Regions from separate parts of the Homo sapiens genome. Here region 1 is linked to region 2. The links are contacts of gene promoters, found by promoter capture Hi-C in blood cells and fetal thymus (Javierre and others, 2016). All regions are on one chromosome and are shown on one strand. The core of a region is centred on a gene start or on the middle of the fragment in contact, and the rest is flanking DNA. Distances in the headings are between cores, read along the strand shown.

What was found. Contacts are between HindIII fragments. The CHiCAGO score rates a contact against its expected background, and 5 or more counts as called.
Region 1: a contact is called between a fragment that was not itself captured here and the fragment with the promoter of SORBS2-AS1 in region 2, in 4 of 17 cell types (M1 macrophages, M0 macrophages, endothelial precursors and 1 more). The highest score is 6.7, in M1 macrophages.

The regions. Positions count from the first base shown.
Region 1 is chr4:186,016,519-186,021,049 of GRCh38, forward strand. All of the region lies in intron 1 of LOC124900830 (a long non-coding RNA gene), which reads right to left. It overlaps LOC124900829 (a long non-coding RNA gene), which reads left to right and starts at 794. Exons shown (of 2, transcript XR_007058418.1): 1 at 794-869; 2 at 1,935-2,363. The HindIII fragment of the contact is 1,167 bases long and covers 1,940-3,106 here.
Region 2 is chr4:185,586,342-185,590,443 of GRCh38, forward strand. SORBS2-AS1 (SORBS2 antisense RNA 1) reads left to right here and starts at 1,584. Exons shown (of 4, transcript NR_186082.1): 1 at 1,584-1,849; 2 at 2,813-2,888. SORBS2 (sorbin and SH3 domain containing 2) reads right to left here. Exons shown (of 27, transcript NM_001395207.1): 26 at 3,338-3,444; 27 at 1-1,347. The coding sequence ends at 1,286. RefSeq lists enhancers at 681-1,880, 1,159-1,238. The HindIII fragment of the contact is 692 bases long and covers 1,051-1,742 here.

The DNA.
Region 1 (4,531 bases), core at 1,273-3,772, 430 kb after region 2:
ACCAAGGGAAAACTGCCCATTTCTATGCTTAGATTTGATGAAGAGTGGTAGCCCTGCGGAGCTGTGACTGGACACAGAGGGAGCGATGGGACAGTGACAGACAGAGGGGGACCCAGCTGGGCCTGTCTGGGTTCCTCTTGGCCTCCCTGTGTGGCGTTCCTTCTTCCTGCGTGTAGGGCAGGGCCCCTTCTGGAATGAGGGTCTTATAACCTACTTTCAGGAAAGTAAGTCAGAGAACTTCTTTATGGCCAGCTCTTACTCAGAAAGGCAGGGAAAGTTCCAGTAGTGATTCTAGTTTCTAATGGCTGGCTTTGGGGAAAGAGATTCTAGTTTCCGTGACCTGCTTTAGGGAAGAGGATTTCTGGTTTCTATGACTCACTTCTTGGGGGAATGAGGGGCGAGAGACAGGAGGGCAGGAGAAGGTCAGAGACTTGGTTCTGAGGCTGCTTCTGAGGCTTTCCAATGCCCTTTAGTTCAAAGTCCTCAGCAGGTCAAGGCCATACTTGGGGTGTCCTTTTCGGAGCCGTGACTTATGACTTAAAGCAAGATGAACTGTTTTGCTATTATGTAGCAGAATCAAGATGAACTGTTTTGCTATTATGTAGCAGAATCAAGATGAACTCTTTTGCTATTATGTAGCAGAAACAGAATTAAACCTAGCCTGCAGAATTCAGAGTCCCATGTGTTCTATTGTTATGCTATCCCAGTGTATGCCATTGAGTGGATAAAATGAAATGGCATCATTGTGCTTATCCCATAGGAAGCAACCCATACATGACAGATACTGCTATTATAACTCAGCACCATCCATTCAGTCATCGTGTGGTCTTCATCTTTTGAAGCCTCATTTTCTCATCTGTAGAACTTGCGTGAGTATTAAGAAGATGTCTGAGGATGCCAGGTGCTAGAGCTGCAGAGAGAACCTGCAGAGAGAAGGGGTGTTGGTTGTGTTGGTTATTAGGGTGTCTCAGGCCATCGTTCAGCACCCTGACCTCTTCCTTCAAGCTGAGCCCTGGGGAAGGGAGCAGAGGGGCATGAATAGGTCAGTTTTGGGGCCCGCCCTATGACCTCCACATCTCTCTTCTTCTTTCCTCTTCTCCAAATTTTAGAATGTGCATCCTTTCCAATCTTTTTTGTTGTTAATGTAGTTGTTTGTTCATATGCCAGTACCGCAGCTACAGAGGCCCTGAAATGCCAAGAATTAACTTCTTTTCTTCCCTATACTGTTTTAAAGCACAGGTTTTGTTATAATTTTGATAGGGCAAGACCAGTAGATAGGAGATGACTACCATTGAAAAAAAAGTCTGATGCTCACAGATGCCAAGAGGAGTGAGCGCCTACAGTGTGTGGCCACACGGGTAGCACCCGGGTCAGGCAGGAGGCAGAGTGAGCAGGGGGAGAATGCTGGGGAGAGGATTCCATGGGAAGGAGCAGGCAAGGCAGGGTGAGCAGGCTCAGGGTGGAGAGCTTGAATAATTTCAGCAGACTCTGGGCATAGGGCCTGTCCCTAACTGTCTGGTACCTGGTTTGGGGTGATCAGGGCAGGGGGAATCATGTTGAATTTGAGATCCCCAGTAGAGGACGTGGTTAGGGGCATGGGCTTTGGATTGGTTCATGTGCATTTGAAAGGCTCTCTCTGGAGGCGGGGGTCCTTCACTGTCTCTAGGAATCGGCTAACTAGAGACAGTAGTAAGCTAACTGACTGCCAGTCCCCCCAGGCTCAGCCAGACTCCAATGTCAAACCATAAATATACATAAAATAAAAAGACATGGTTAGACACATGCATTCTGCAGTGTCAAATAACACTTGGGCAATGGAAAATTCATATCTAGTCTCCCAGGTGGGAAAAAAAAAAAAAAAGGAAATATCAAGAACGGTTACTATTGCAAAGTGTTATCCCACTAAACACCCTCTATCTCTCTGTGTTTTGTAGCATGAAGCTTTGTTACCATGACGTCACATGCTATCCATGGGGTTTTGTTGCTGTTACAGAGGTCCCCGTGATATGCTGTCCTGCATTTCTAGACATGTCTTTGGTTTGGAAGCCTGACACCACCAAAAGAGAACTGCAGTGCAAATGGTTTTGAAATCCTCCACTAATCATCCTAGAAGCTCAGCTAGTTCCAGGGCCTTCCATAATTCCAATTCCAAAGGACTTCATATCAAAACATTCTTTGCTTGTTTTGCTACCCCCCAAGATTGCATTTATCCCTTCTCTGGAGATTTTAACAGTTGGTGAGCTACCCTAGGCTCTGGTGGCACCTTCTATAAGTGACCCTTGACCTTCCACTTTCCTGAACTGATGAAAACATAGCTGTGTTAGCTCAAATAAATATTTCCTAACTGCCTGCTTTGGGGAAAATGCTGTGTGAAATGCTTGATGGATTTATTTATTCAACACCTGTTTATGAAGTGTTGATTATGTGCTAGACACTTTTGCAGACATTGAGGATACAGTAGTGGACTAAATAGACAAAGCTCCCTCATGGAGCTTATTTTGTAGTGGGGTAGGCGGGTGCTGGCAATAAACAAGGTGAAAATATATGGCATGTCAGGTGGTGATAAAAGCCAGGGGGTAAAATGATGCCACGATGGGGGAGAGGAGGCCTGCCACTTTAAATAAGACAGTAAGAAAAGGTCTTTGTGAAGGTGACATTTTAGCAAAGATTTGAAGGATGTCTCTGAGAGAGGATTGTTGGAGATGGACACAAGAGGGATTGAGCAAGAAACACAAGCAGTGGCAGCTGAAACCTGGGTTTCTCAAAATGGAGTTTATGGAGAGTGTGTGTAACAACAATAAGATAAAAAAAGGAGAGATATAAGATCAGTGCCTTCACCTCAAGAACTTCATGGTCTCATTAGAGAGGTTTCCTAACAACAAACCATTAGAAATGAGACAGAGCAGGGATCCCTCTTAGGGGCCTGCAAGTCCCTCAAGCATGAAAGAAAAATCTTGAATTTCTTCAAGGGGAATTCCAGGCACCCAGCTATCCCTGAAGAGTAAATGAGCAACTTGACCAGCAAGAAGGTAATAGTAGCTTAAAACAATAACCAAGGGAGTTGAAGTCATGGGGTGTTTGGTAAAGTCATGGGGTATTTAGATAAAGCTTCACCTCCTTACCCAATTGCAAACCCCAACATCTTTGAATCCACCTGTGACCTGTGGAACCCTGCTTCATGACACCCTACTTTTTTAGGCCAAACCAATATAGAGCCTCAATATATTAATTGACTTCTTTGCCTGCAATCTCTGCTTCTCCAGATTTAAAATCTCCTACCTGTAAGCCACCGAGAGGTCAGGTCTCAATTGTAAGCTGCCCAATTCTCTTTCCTTGGCATCCTGCAAATAAACACCTTGCTTTCCCCTGCTGCAAACCACGGTGTGGATGTTTGGCCTCACCCCACAGGAGAGCAGACACCAGTTCAGTTCAGTAACAGAAATAGGTCATTAAAGATGGATTCTGTCTACAGTTCACCCAAGCAAGTGAAGTCTGTGTTAAAATACTCAATAGTATCTCTCTTAGCTCTTGCCAGAATGAACATGAAGTCAATGACAGGTTGGTAACTCATAAAATTAAGGCAGATTTCCACACTCATCGTCACCACTCTCACCTAACACTTGGTCAGCATCTACTGTAAACAGTTTACTCTACTGAGTGTAGGAAGAGGCACAGTCGTGAGTGTGAGCTTCCTGAGTGGGGACGTCCTGCGCTGTCACTTTTAAGGAAGGCTTCACGTAGGCCATGCTGGAACCCAGAGTGCCTGAGACAACCGCTAGGGAGGAGACTTCCTGAGGCCTGTGGCTGAAGGAGAATGAGCCAGGGCTTCTCACAGGCAGACATGGGTGTAAAGGGAAACGAGGGAAGGAGTTTGGCCTTCATGTGCTGGTCCTTACCCTGGGTCGATGGCGGTGGATGCAGGGCTAGGTGTGAAAGAGACAATCCTACTTTACTGAAGGTCTTGGGAGCTCAGCAGCGTGGACTTGCCGGGATTCAGCTCCCTGGGCCCTGCCCTCTTCTGCAATATGGACAGCAACCGGGTAAGGAGGCGTTGAGAGAAGAGACTCGTAGAAGGGCAGGTGTGCAGAACCGAACATGGAGGGCATCGGTGAGACGTCCCAAGGCTTCCAGGAATAGCTGCAAAGAGCACAGGGCTGCCTGGAGAGCCTGTGTCTGCAGCAGAAACCAGCACCTGCAGGACAGGCCATGGCTGTGAGGGGGATGTTGGAGGTGCTCAGCTTACTGAGCTCTGGAGCCAGCATCATATGTGAATATGTGTTAGCACGTCGTCCAGCACTGTGTGATTCGTAGTAAATCTTTACAGAATTGAAATCTATCTGGTGTCTCTAGAAATTGACTTGAAGCACAAGGTAGCAGAAAGTACTTGTCAGAAGAAGACAGATGCTCAGTTCGGAGGAGGGAGAAACAGGGAACCCAGAGGAGGGCGAAGGCGTCACCTGTGAGGCCAGGCGTGTGGCCGTGAGCAGCCCCGTTGTGTTGCAGAGGTTTCACAGATCAGTAGTTACTGTCT
Region 2 (4,102 bases), core at 334-2,833:
AATAAAACCTGAATGATTTAACATTGCTTCTAAAAAGTGCCTAATTTATTCCTAGGAAATATTTTACACACACCAGGAAAATCAGGCTCAACATATTCCTGTCCTCAAATGTAGCCAGGATTCTGAGTTCCATAGAAGAAAAATAATTATTATAGTAAAAATAATTGTAGTAATCCTAATCCTTGCTAAAACCAACTTTAATACTTGTGATGCTTCTGTACTCTATTTCTATAAAATAATGTGTGAGATTCTATTACATTTCCATAAAATGTACAACATATCATATGGATTATATGTTCTCATACAATCTCAAATGTGTATGTGTACACACAGTGAAATCTTACCTACTAGTATTGCTTACAGATACTTTCAGGTGTCTGTTAGAATAATTCTTTGCACCTCTCACTAACACTGCTTTTACTTACATTTTTTCAGATAAATAAAACACTAAGAGCTCATTGTTCATGATGCTGATCATTACATTTTAATATAAAATAGCGATGCAACTTTACAACACAATAGTTTTCCCCTGTAGCCTAGCTCAGCCTCTTGTATTGTCATGATTATTACCGAAGGCTTTTATTTACTTACTGTTTGCACTTCTAAAAAATGCAAACAAATTGCAGAAAAAGACTCCTATTTGAAAACTCACATTCAATCAGCAAAATCACACTCATCCAAATTAACTCGCCTCCTCTTGCTTTAAAGGTTGTAATCACTGTGCATATTACAACATGTATGTGCAGGCAAACAATAGCTAAAGTACAGTTACAGTTGTCATATTGTGTAAACCAAGACACTAGGCAAACTTGTGAAAAGAATACACACTGCCAAGCGAAGAATATGAAAATGCAAACCACAGCATTCCCCAATAAACAATTTTCTGGTCGTCTTGGGGGAGAACATCGCCTGGGGGGAGATGTTGAAATGGAGCCACGAGGCTGGACAGCCTCCTGGAGACACTTTTTTTTTTTTTTTTTGCCTCAAATATTTGACCATTTTTAAATATCATGATTTTTTTCTTTCTGATCCCACATTTTGACGTGTCAAAGCTTAGAGCAGGAAGTAGGAATCCACACTTTCACGGAGGGGGACCAGCCTGCCATGTCGTCCCCAGGCTCACAGCAGCGGCGGCTACTCTGCTGGTGGTTTGGTGGCAGGTGGAGATGGTGACGGCGCATTGGAAACCGTAAGGCATGACAACGGGAGGCCCGCGGGGTGTTTCAGGCGCGTTGACGCAGGTGCATGGCTGGCAGGCGGCCTCTACAGAAGGAGGGAGCGCAATTCACAGCCTCTTGACGTAGTTTCCGGGGAAAGTACCAAAGAATTTGGTTCTTCTTGAGGTCCCTGAAAATAGAAGCGAGTCATGAAAGGGGGGTGACAACGATATCAGTTCATACACATGGGCTTGAATACTTCCCATTTACAAGGCCTCGGAAGACAGCAAGCCCCGAGGGGTTTGGAAAAGAAGGCAGGCAACTCACATGAAGCCCATAGGCAGACAAAATAAGCAGTGTTAGCTGGTTGCCTGACGCTCTCACTGCCCCTCCGGCATAAATGCTGCGCTGCCATCGCGGCAGGCTAAACAGAAATGCTGAGCCTCCCAAGCTAAAGGGAAAGTCAGCCCTGCTGAGGAGGGGGGCGGAGGAGCTCAGTCACTGAGGCTGCCACACCAGAGTCGGGGGTGAGGGATCAAGGCGAGGCTGACAGGTGACAGGGTGAGTGGAAAATCCTAAGAGCAAAGCTTCTCAGGGACCAGCAACCCGCGCAACACAGGTGCGACATGAAGACATCATCTGTGGCAGGCTGTCGCTGTTCCAACAGTTTTATCATCTTACAGAAGATCATGGTCAGTGCCACATCATTTATTTAAAAACAGCACTGCCAGAGTCCTTCATCGAGTATACAATTTTTCAACAATTTACAAATCATTAATGAAAAAAAGGATTAAGCACTATTTGTGTGTGGGAGTTCTATCAGTGGCATGATTTTTAACATGGTGTGTGTTTAACCACACGCACAAATGGCTATCATAATTATGTTCGCCTCTGGTTTCAAATAATGTAATTCCTTGGACACTTCTTGTAAAAGTTGGTGCACTAAATTGCTAAATTCTTCTTTAGGCAGCGCAGATGGACCGGATAAGGGTCTCTCAAGCTTCATCTGTCTCCTATATCCTGGCACTTACTGCCTTGGTTTGATGGCTGTTTTTCTTTTTCCTTGGCTAGGCAAGCCATTTTACGTTTCTCCTCCCTCCTCCTCCTCCCTCCTCCTCCTCCTCCTTGTTTTTGAGATGGAGTTTCGCTCTTGTCGCCCAGGCTGGAGTGCAGTGGCATGATCTCGGCTCACTGCAACCTCTGCCTCTTGGGTTCAAGCAATTCTCCTGCCTTAGCCTCCTGAGTGGCTGGGATTACAGGCACCTGCCACCAAGCCCAGCTGATTATTGTACTTTTGGTAGATACGGGGTTTCACCATGTTGACCAGGCTGGCCTCGAACTCCTGGCCTCAGGTAATCCACCCGCCTCGGCCTCCCAAAGTGCTAGAATTACAGGCATGAGCCACCGCACCCGGCCTTTTTTTCTTCTTTTAATGGAAATAAAATCAGAGGCTTGTGGCCGCACCAGGGCCTCAATTCTTTCATGATTTTGCCACCGATGGATGTCTAGAGTGAGCCCTCCTCTCCTCTCACCTTTCCTCTCTTCCATTCTCTGCCCTGCAGCCTGTGTTTCCTTTTCACCTCTTTCTGTGGCCCAGTGTAAAATACTTTTGTCTACAAATGTTTTCCCAGAAGACCTCTCGTCTTTTTTTTTAGGATGGTAAAGATGAAGTTGCCTTTTAAGTGGGAAGAATGGAACGTCTCTCTGCTTCCACCACAAACTAAAGTTAAGGTGAGTCACTGAATGTTCGGGCATCTACGTCAGACCTAGGAAACGGGAGAGCTGTTCACTTAATCTCACTCCCTCTGAAATTAGATTCTCACTGTGGACAACTAACATTTTCCACAGCACAGAGCGTTGATATTTCTCTTCTGGGGACCATTTGTTGTTGTTGTTCTTAGATCTCAATCTTTCCTGGTTTTTGCTATTTAAAGAAATTGTCTTCTCTCAGTTGAGTTGGAAATAAAGCTCGCAGAAAATCACACATAGCTGAAGCAGTGAATACTAAACTATATTAAAAATGCAATAGCCTTGGGATTACATTGTGCATATGAATGTCTGAAAGATCAAAGGCATTACGAATTCAAAGGAAGCTCGGCCATCACAGCAAACCACGGGAGTGAGCAAACTCAAGCAAATTACAAAATAGCCGAAGGTGCCTGAGGAAGAAGCGCACATACCCACAAACCAGCCGTCATCACACTTTTCCATGACATCAATGACATCACTTTCTCTGAGCTCCAGCTCATCTTCATTCCTGGGAGTATAGTTATACAGAGCCTGAAACCTTAAACAGGACAAGGGAATGTGTTTAAAAACATCTTGACACCTTCATGAAATATAGAAGATAGAACAATATTCATTCTTCCTTTAACATTCCTATTCTTAACAACATTCTGTTGGGTGGTACAAGCCTGGTAAGCATGTAAATAGCATTCTATTGGATGGTACAAGCCTGGTAAGCAGGTACATAGCAATATGTAGATCTTCACAGGCATTAGAACACTCTAACAACATTTTGAAACTCACGAGGAATATCCATGAAAATTGTAACATTCATAAATTGGATTAAAATATGTCAACATGTATAAGTCAGACCCGCATTTCAGTTGTCCAGCCATCTAACGTCTATCATTTAGACATTAAATAATAGTACAAAATATAAAATAAGTGATATTTGTATTATTTAACTGTTTAAAAACAAGAAGGAATCACAATTTTAGCTAGCCATAATCAGAAGCAAATAATGGGGGCTTGAGAATTGAATTTTCAAAGGTTCTAAATGGAGATAGACAAAATGTGTCAGACATGTCTTTTTAATCACTCTGTGTGAATTACTATACAAAGGAAAATTATTTTTTTTACTAAGAGGAATTCTTTAGATCAGTTTAATGTTATGGTTTGGATCAGTGTTTTCTGAGGATGTAGAATTGGAAGATTTGATG